2 separate regions of the Homo sapiens genome follow, and region 2 is linked to region 1. Evidence: promoter capture Hi-C in human tissues and cell types (Jung and others, 2019). All regions are on one chromosome and are shown on one strand. The core of a region is centred on a gene start or on the middle of the fragment in contact, and the rest is flanking DNA. Distances in the headings are between cores, read along the strand shown. Region 1 holds the start of VIPR2 (vasoactive intestinal peptide receptor 2). Region 2 has its middle 7.3 kb from the start of LINC00689.

Region 1 (4,630 bases), core at 659-3,158:
ATAGAAGGGCTTTATTTTTAAAGGTGTTGGTACATGTTCAAAGCTTAACCCTCTAACTACAGATAAAACTGCAATCGTTTTGACTAGAATTTGGGGTGGAAGAGATATTCAAAGAAATCAGCAAGATGAGGAGGGAGGCAGAGGTGGGGGAATCACACCATTGTGGCCCCACAGAGAAGAGGGGGCGATTTCCAGTCAGGATCCATCAGGGGAGCGAAAGGTGCCACAAAGATAGTAATTAACAGTCTACTAATGTGAGAAGAAGGCAGAACTACACAATGCTTCCTCTCAGAAGGCACCGTTTCTACCTTGTTCTTCACGCCCTCCGCGAAGTCAGCACAGGCCTGCCAAGCGGCCCTTGGGGGCTTAAGGAGGGCTCCCCCCACCCATCCTTTTGGTCTTGATCTTCCCCCTCCCCCACCACCGACCAAAATTCTACTTGTACTAAAGTAGTAACTAAAGAGAATCATACTGTTGGGCGTACTATGGCCATCTATGTTTAGTTATCTTACTATTGAAATGGTCAATGAGAGTTCCAACCAGGAACACAATATCCTAACAGAATTAAGGGGAAAACAATGCTGGAACTTCTGCCACCTTCAGCCCCATTTAAAAGAGCCCCGAGCTTGCTTCTTGCTCGTGACTGAACCAGCACCAGGCACTGACTTTGGGCTCCAAGTCCTCTGTTTTCATGCAGGACAAGTAAGTGGCTTAAATTTCAGAATTAAGGAAATTATATTGATGTAAAAAGAAAAACTTTGTTAAAGTGTAAAAGACATTAATAATACCTGACGTTCCTGGAATATGCACAGCAATGACTTCTTTTAGGACATTTTAGCAATGAAAGCAGCATTAACCGTGATAAAACCCGTTACTTTCCAAGGACCCGCTCCGCAAAGCGCCCACCCTCGAGGGAGGAAAGCCGAGCTGCGCCTCCGCGCAAGGCCAGGGAGTGTGGCTCGAGCCCCGCTGCAGACCGGGCGTCGCCGGTTAATCAATGACACTGTCGGGTCAGCAGCGCAGCCTCCCAGCTGCGGAGGGGCCGCGGATCGATCCAGACCTGCCTCGGCTGCGACGCGCACGAAAACCGCGCGCACCGCAAACCCGCTTCAGTCTCCAAGAGGAAAGCAAGAAACAAGGCTCGGGTTTTTTTCTTTCTTTTTTCTTTCCTTTTTTTTTAAGGTTCACAGAGGGAATAATTCAGAACTCCATGTGCGAAGGCACTTAATCAACAAACTTATGAGCAGTTAGTTCCTCCAGTGCCCTTGGGAAAAAGCAACTATTTCCAAAAGGAAACTTTATTTAACCGACGCCACGTCCCCCCGACACTAAAACTAACCAGTAAGTACAGGGAGGGACCGAGAGGCATCTGCGGCCAACGCCAACCCCGATCTCCCCGTGAAACGCGCAGCCCGCGCAGGCGCCCGCAGCTCCCAGCTCCCGGGACGGCCCCGAACGAGCTCATCGTTGACGCGTCCAGGAAGAAACGATCCCGTTTCCAGCAAACCCCGGACGGTGGGGCGCGGGGAAGGGCGCAGGCAGCCTCCCAACCCGAGTCCCGCAACCCGGCGGGACCGGAGCTCAGCGCTTCACGCTCTCCGGGAGGAAGCTCCGGACCCCGGGCGACCCCGCTCCCTCTCCCGGACCCCGCCCGCGCTCCAGCACCCGGGAGGAAGGCGAAGACCGGCGGGAGGAGCGCTCTTCTCGGAAGGGGAGAACCGGGTCCGAGGCGCCGTGGGGCGGGGGTCGCGGGCGCACTCACGGGGGCGAGCAGCCAGCAGGTCAGCAGCGCGGGAGGCAGCAGCGTCCGCATCCCGAGCTCAGCGTGCCGGGGGCCGCCCAGCGCCCGCCGCCTCCGTCCTAGGTCCCCGCGGTTCCGCCGCCTCCAGCATGGGCCGGGAGCGAGTGCGCGGAGACCTCGGGCCCCGCAGCTGTAGCCGAGCGCCCGAGCGCGGGGGCCGCCCCCTCCGTCCCGGCAGCTGGAGCGCGCTCAATGCACGCCCGTCCCCCACGCGCCCCGCCGCTCCGCCCCCCGCCCCTGTCCCCGCCCCGCGCTGCCCCAATCCTCGTCTCCCTCCTCCCCCGAGAACCCCCGCTCCGCGCCCCTCCTCACCGCCCCCCACTTCCCCTTCCGCTGCGCCCCGCGCCCTCTCCTCGCCCCTGGGCTCTCTGTCCCCGCCGCGCGCGCTCCCTCTGGTCTCCTCGACCCCCCCAGCCTCTCTCTCCGTTCTCCTCCCCTCTTCCCTGGCCCACGCCCCCCTCCCGGCCGCGCCTCCCCGATCTGTGGGCGGAGGGGCTGGGAAGCGGGGTGCTCAGTGCGCGCCCGGCTCCGAGTAGAGAGAACTGGGGGAGAGCGGCCGGCGCGGGGCCGGGAGAGGAGGACCGGGCCAGGTGTGCGCTCGGAAGGGGCGGATGCCTTTGCGGCCGCCTGTACCTGCCTTTCTAAACAACTGCGGAAGCCCAAGAAAGCGGCCAGAGACCCGTCCGGGGTGGGCGCGCCGTCTTTGTAGCCAGTGGGGCTAGGTTGGGGCATCTGAAAATGGAGAAAATCAGAGTGCTTTTTGGTGGGGATCCCCGCAGCCTCAAAGAGGACATCAGGTCGAACAGAAAGCTGGAGAAAAACGCAGACGGGGGTATAGGTGGGTCCCAGCCTCAGCTGGGTGGCGGGTTTTGTGTCCTGCGTTTGCAAAACGGGGGTCATTCTCTCCCCGCAAACGCGGCGGCGGGTGGGGAACGCTGGGCGGGGACTCACGCGGTGCCACTGGGGCCGCCCCGCCGCGCCCCACGCGGGACTGCGCGGCCTCCCAAGGCGCCCGCGTGACCAACCCAGGAGAGCTCGGCGTTCCCCAGCAAGTGGAAAGCACTGGAATGAGAGATACAAGTTAAGTTCGTGTTGTTTTAATTTTTTATTTGGAAATAATTTCAAACTTACACAAAAATTAGAAGAATAAGAATATTACAAATAACTCCTTTTTATCCTTTTTGTGGATTCGGTCATTAACATTTACCTCATTGGGCTTATCATTTGCTTCTCTCTGATCCCCCACCCCCCGTATTCACAGATATCGATTTTTCTATCATCTGATGTTTATCATCCACATTATCTATCATCTACCTATCCATCATCTACGTATCATCTATCGATCTGTCATGTACCTATCATCTATCATCTTCCTATCGATCATCTATCTGTAATCTGTCATCTATTATCTGTCATCTATCATCTACCTGTCCATCATCTACCTTTCATCTATCCATCTGTCAGGTATCTATCATCATGCGCCTATCATCTATCATCCACCTTTCCTCTATCACCTACCTGTCATCTATTATCTATGATCTATCCATCTATTATGTACCTATCATCTATCATTTGCCTATCTTTCATCTGTAATTTACCTATCTATAACCTGTCATCTACCTATTTATCATCTATCATCTGCTGTCATTTATGATCTATCCATCTATCATGTACCTATCATCTCTGTATCATGTATCAATCAGCTATCATCTACCTATCATCTCTCTGCGATCTATTACCTATCTATTACCTACCATCTACCTATTTATCATCTATCATCTACCTCTCTGTCATTTATCTATGATCTGTCATGTACCTATCATCTATTATCTTCCTATCGATCGTCTATCTGTAATCTATCATCTATTATCTGTCATCTATCATCTGCCTATCCATCATCTGTGATCCGGCATATCTGTGATCTACCTGGCTGTCATCTATCAATCACCTATCATCTGCCTATCTGTCATCTGGCTGGCATCTATCAATCACCTATCATCTGCCTATCTGTCATCTGCCTGTCATCTATCAATCTATCATCTGCCTATCTGTCATCTGCCTGTCATCTATCAGTCTATCATCTGCCTATCTGTCATCTGCCTGTCATCTATCATCTGCCTATTTATCATCTATCTGTGATCTATCATATCTGTGATCTGCCTGTCATCTATCAGTCATCTATCATCTGCCTATTTGTCATCTATCTGTGATCTATCATATCTGTGATCTGCCTGTCATCTATCAGTCATCTATCATCTGCCTATCTGTCATCTGCCTGTCATCTATCATCTGCCTATTTGTCATCTATCTGTGATCTATCATATCTGTGATCTGCCTGTCATCTATCAGTCATCTATCATCTGCCTATCTGTCATCTGCCTGTCATCTATCATCTGCCTATTTGTCATCTATCTGTGATCTATCATATCTGTGATCTGCCTGTCATCCATCATCTGCCTGTCATCTATCGATCATCTATCATCTGCCTATCTGTCATCTGCCTGTCATCTATCCTCTACCTGTTATCTATCTGGCTTCATCCATGTGTATCTAGTGGGAGACGAGGAGAGGGAGACCTGGGCCTTAGGCGGGCTGCTTGGCTTGTGAAGAAAGCTCGTGGCGCTGGGTGCCTTCGACAAACGCATCTTTTTCTCCCGGTTCCACCTGGGTGAGCGATGAACTTTGAGCTCTATGCATTTGTAGGAATGACAGCACCTGCCCTTCCACCGCAGAGGGGCTCTGTAATAATCAAGGTGATTAATGCACACGTCAATACCTTGTTGAGGGCCTGCATTTTAGAAGTGACTGTCCAGGGTGCAGTGAGGGGTT
Region 2 (4,630 bases), core at 886-3,385, 140 kb before region 1:
CCACGCTCCCCTCTCCTCAGTGGGGACCCCCCTCCACACTCCCCACCTTCATCCACGCTCCCCTCTCCTCAGTGGGGACCCCCCTCCACACTCCCCACCTTCATCCACGCTCCCCTCTCCTCAGTGTGGACCCCCCTCCACACTCCCCACCTTCATCCACGCTCCCCTCTCCTCAGTGGGGACCCCCCTCCACACTCCCCACGTGCGTCCACGCTCCCCCCTCCTCAGGGGCTTGTTTTCTGCCCAGGGCCATTTCCTATGGCGAGGGAACGAGTCAGGAAGCAGTGATTCCACTCACGCTCCAGGTTTTCCTGACTCACGCAGACGCTTAACATCTTTTCCTTGGCTCTTATTTGTAGCATCTAACAACGTCCAGATCACCTGTAAAATGTGCAGCCTCCCCTCTGCCTTCAAGAGGCAGCTGAGGTCCTGTCTTGGGTCATTGTGTGGTTCTCAGGAGGTCTTCAGGAGCCCCTCACGTTGAAGGTACCCAGTGTTTCCCTGACCAACAGAAGGTGTTTGTTTCACCACATTTTCCTTACGTTCTTATGGAAAAAATTTAATCCTTAAAACGTGGCTTTCTGCTAATAAAGAAAGAACAAACTCCCTACGTATCTTAAGAAACAGTCAAAACGGCTTGCTTGCTAGTCTGAAATTCTTTCAACACATATACATGAAAAGAGAATTATTCTTTGACCCAGGATCTTCTGAGGCCAGGCGGGTGTGGATAGGTGTCCTCTGTCCTGACAGCGGCTCCTGCCCAGTCTGGAGTGCTGGTGGTTTATCTGCGTGGCCTCTGCAGCTCTGTGTGCTATGCGCGTCTCGAGGTGGAGAGACTTGGTGTCTGCATTCCTGGGTTCGTGCTCTATTTCCACGCACAGGTGGAAGAAAAAGAAGGGCGAGGCCGCACAGTGCTAAGACGCAGGCTCTGGGATCACACTACCCGGACCCAATGCGCGAGGCTGCCCCTGGGGCTCCGCCCCATCTTCCCTCCTCAAACCGCCCCGTGCTCGTTCCTCCCCCTGGGCCTGTGAGGAGAACCCCTGGCTTAGCGTTTCTGTCCAATGCCAGAAACCAGCGGGTGGCTAGCTCCATTCTACCCAGCGCTCCTGACTGACCCTCATCAGCCACCAAAACTTTTTGTTGTCCTGGCTCAGTCTTGAGCGGATCGTTGCTAATGTTACTGATCATTTCACATTCCCAGATGATATTTCGGAGCCCCTCCGCTCCCCACCCGGCAGCCTTGTGAGTCACATTTTCACAGAGAACACACTGCTGGGAAACCTCCTGCTGAGCTCAATGTCTCACCTGGATTCTTGTTAGTTCTGATTTCCAATCTTCAGAGGTGGCATTTTCCGATTTTTCCTTCGTACAATGTATTCCTTCATTTGACAAATACGTGTTGAGTACTTGCCCTGTGACTGGCCCCGTGGACAGACACAATAGGGAAGCAAGATGGAATTCCAGGTCCCGAGAGGGTGAAAGAACGGGGGACGGCCTGGCGATCATGACGCCATCCACGGTTAGGTCTTCTTAGCAGGGGTCCAGGAACAGCTGGCTCCCTGAGCAGGGAAGAGTGCCAGCATAGCCAAGATGCTGAGAGTCCAAACCCCTCCGCAGACAGCGGGTGGAGGTGGGACCAACTGCTTTCTCTGAGAAGAGGATGAAATGCCAACATCCATGTGGATGCGCCAGAGGCAGCCAGAATCTGTGCCTGCCCCCTGTGGGTTTTCTTTTCTCTCTTTAAAAATGTTTTATTTTTAAATTTTGTGGGTACATAGTAGGCATATATATTTATGGGGTACATGAGATGCTTTGATACAGGCATGCAATGCGTGCTGATCACATCATGGACAATGGGGCATCCGTCCCCTCAAGCATTTATCCTTTGTGTTACAAGCAATATAATTACACTCTTTTAGTTATTTTAAAAGAGCTAGGGTCTTGTTCTGTTGCTCAGGCTGGTCTCAAACCTCTAGGCTCAAGCAATCCTCCCACCTCGGCCTCCCAAAGTGCTGGGATTACAGGTGTGAGCCACCATGTCCAGCCTCTTTATTTTATCTTTTTCCCGTTATCACGGGTTGAGGCTGCAAAGTGTTGTCAGTATCATCTGCTGGTCAGTGTGCAGGAAGTAACATCCCCAGGGAAACATGGAGCCCTGCGATGGCCCTGATGGCTTTTTAGATTACGATGGGCTGTGTTTGGAATGAATATAGTGGGAATTGCTAACCTGTGGTTTTCTCTCCTTTGACAGTGTCACCAGGTGAATTAGTACAAAAGGTAGGAGACAACTGCCCGCCCAGACCTCGTCAGGAGGAAAACGCAGGCCTCGCTTCTCAGCAACCCCCTCTAGAGCTCATCAGAGTAAAATCGTCCATTACAGTTTCTCAAATTCGCCACCTATGTGAAGACACAAAATGAAAACCCTAGAGACCCCGCCAGGCCCTCATTTCCTTCTCATCCCCAAATTTGTCCCTCCAGGAAGTGCAGCCAGGAAAGCCGGTGCTTGGAGCCTGGCTCACCCGCCGCGGAGCTGGGGACCTCGTGCACGTCACCGAGGCTCTCCGGGGCTGTTTCCTAATCTATGAAATGTGGTTCTTTACTCACAGGTCTGTTCTGAGAAGTGAATAACAGGACGTCTTCTGCATGCCCCGACCCCTGACAGCTTTCGGCCACTCAGCAAATGCAACGTCCTTCCTGGCTCAGGTTCTCTAGTTTGCTTCTGAAAGGGGCCGCACTTCTTGTCATATCCAATAAGGCCTGTTTTTGTTCTTTCCTAACGCACCTGCCTCACCTCTGAACAATATCATTTTTCTATTTTGGAAATGATGTATTTTTGGCATGAGGAAAATGAGAAAGTTTACCACCCGTGCTGAGAGCCGGCCTGCCTGGCAGTGGCTGAAGATGCTGGAGAGAGCTGCTCTGAACTTTGCTGACTGGAGCGAGACTTTGCATTTGGGAGACTTTATGCAGCTTGGAGCTCCACAAAGGCCGGTTCCTCCTCACTTCCACTCGATGCCTCCCTGCTGCTGTCCTGAACAACTGTCCTAACTTTGTTTGTGGAGTATTGTCAGAATTCACTTCTCCAAATGAAGTCTCTTCTTAGCACGAGACTTTGGGGTTTGCTCACTGCGGTGGCTGTCCAATGGTCGATGGCTGATGCCCTTGCAGCGTCTCAGTCCCTGGTGCCTGTGAGCTCCCCAGGGTTCCTGGATTCCTCAGTCCTGAATCAGGAGGAGAAGGTGGTAGGAGAGCCCATGTGTGTGGGTGGCCTCAGCCCCAACCCCCGACCTCCAGGGCTGCCCGTCTCCCCGTGTGAGGAGGGGCTGCACAAAGGGGTCCCTAGGTCTCTCCTGCTCAAGGTGCCTGTGCTCCCGTGACTGCAGCCGCTCATCGCCAAGTTCTGAGCTTCCACAGGCTCAGTCTCAACCACGGACCCGAGGGTCCCTTCTCTGTGGCACCACAATTCCAAACTTTCATTTCAGAAGGATGAGAGGCTATCTGGCCTAGCACTGGGCATCTGACCTAGCACTGGGCATCCGGATACTTCAGGTTTATGAGCTGAGTGCACAAATTGTAAGTGACACTTCAGAGGCTGCCAGATTGAGACAGATAATTAGCTACACCAGTTACTTTTGAAAATTTAATGGTATGTGATGAGCACGTGTTGGATCATCACTGGATGGATACCTTCTTCACACATATAAATGGTAATTTATCTACATGCAGATGGTTAAGTCAAACCACAGCCCACCCAACAGTTCTAGACAGATTCTCACCGGAAGCTTCTAGGGGGGCTCATTTGACAGAATTCCACGTCTCTAAGCAGACATGCCCGAAGGTTCAGACCCTGTGGCCGGAGAAGCGCGTGGAGCAGGGCTCCTCCCTCGCCCCGTCTGGTAAGTGCTGTGGAGTATTTCAGCTTTTCTTTATCCTCCAGAGGGGGCTTGCTTTTGCCACCTTGTTGTAGTTGTTTAAAATTCATACATACATGCAGACACACTGTTGCTGAGGTAACTTGATTCCCTCATGGAACCAGGAACCTGGAGACAGGGTTCCCATTGCTTTGGTTTGGCCTAGTGATGTGTCTCTGCCAGATGCACTCTAGGAGGTGCCTGCAGGGCCACGGGATGCTGGTCACTGCTATAGGAAAGAGGTGAGGCAGTGTCTGTGTGCAAGTTATGCTCAGGCCTTCAGACAGCGCAGCCACGAGGCACAAACTTCTAGGGATAGGCCACATCCAGACACAGCTCGGGGATGTCACAGGCTCACTTCCAGACCCCCGCAACAAAGCCAGACACACGCATTTTTGGGTTTCCCGTTGCATATGGAGGTTACATTTACACTGTACTGTCGTCTGTCTATTAAGTGTGCAACAGCATTATGTCTAAAAGACAATGTGCCTGTCTTCATTGCTAAAAATGCTGATGATCATCTGAGCCCTCAGTGAGTCCTAATTTTCTTGCTGGTGGAGGGTCTTGCCTCAGTGTTGGTGGCTGCTGACTGATCAGGGTGGTGCTGCTGAAGGTTGGGGTGCTTGTGGCAATTTTAAAAAACAAGACAACAATGAAGTTTGCCACATTGATGGACTCCTTTCATAAAAGATTTCTCTGTAGCATGCCATGCTGTT

The links. Contacts are between HindIII fragments. The study calls those that stand out against the background at their distance.
Region 2: a fragment that was not itself captured here is called in contact with the fragment with the promoter of VIPR2 in region 1 in 4 of the 25 tissues and cell types used here (H1 embryonic stem cells, bladder, liver and 1 more).

The regions. Positions count from the first base shown.
Region 1 is chr7:159,142,959-159,147,588 of GRCh38, forward strand. VIPR2 (vasoactive intestinal peptide receptor 2) reads right to left here and starts at 1,909. Exons shown (of 13, transcript NM_003382.5): 1 at 1,763-1,909. The coding sequence starts at 1,813. RefSeq lists an enhancer at 3,707-4,630. The HindIII fragment of the contact is 14,641 bases long and covers 1-4,630 here.
Region 2 is chr7:158,998,718-159,003,347 of GRCh38, forward strand. No RefSeq gene overlaps it. Among named protein-coding and RNA genes, the nearest start is that of LINC00689, 7.3 kb to the right of the region's middle. The HindIII fragment of the contact is 6,196 bases long and covers 1-4,630 here.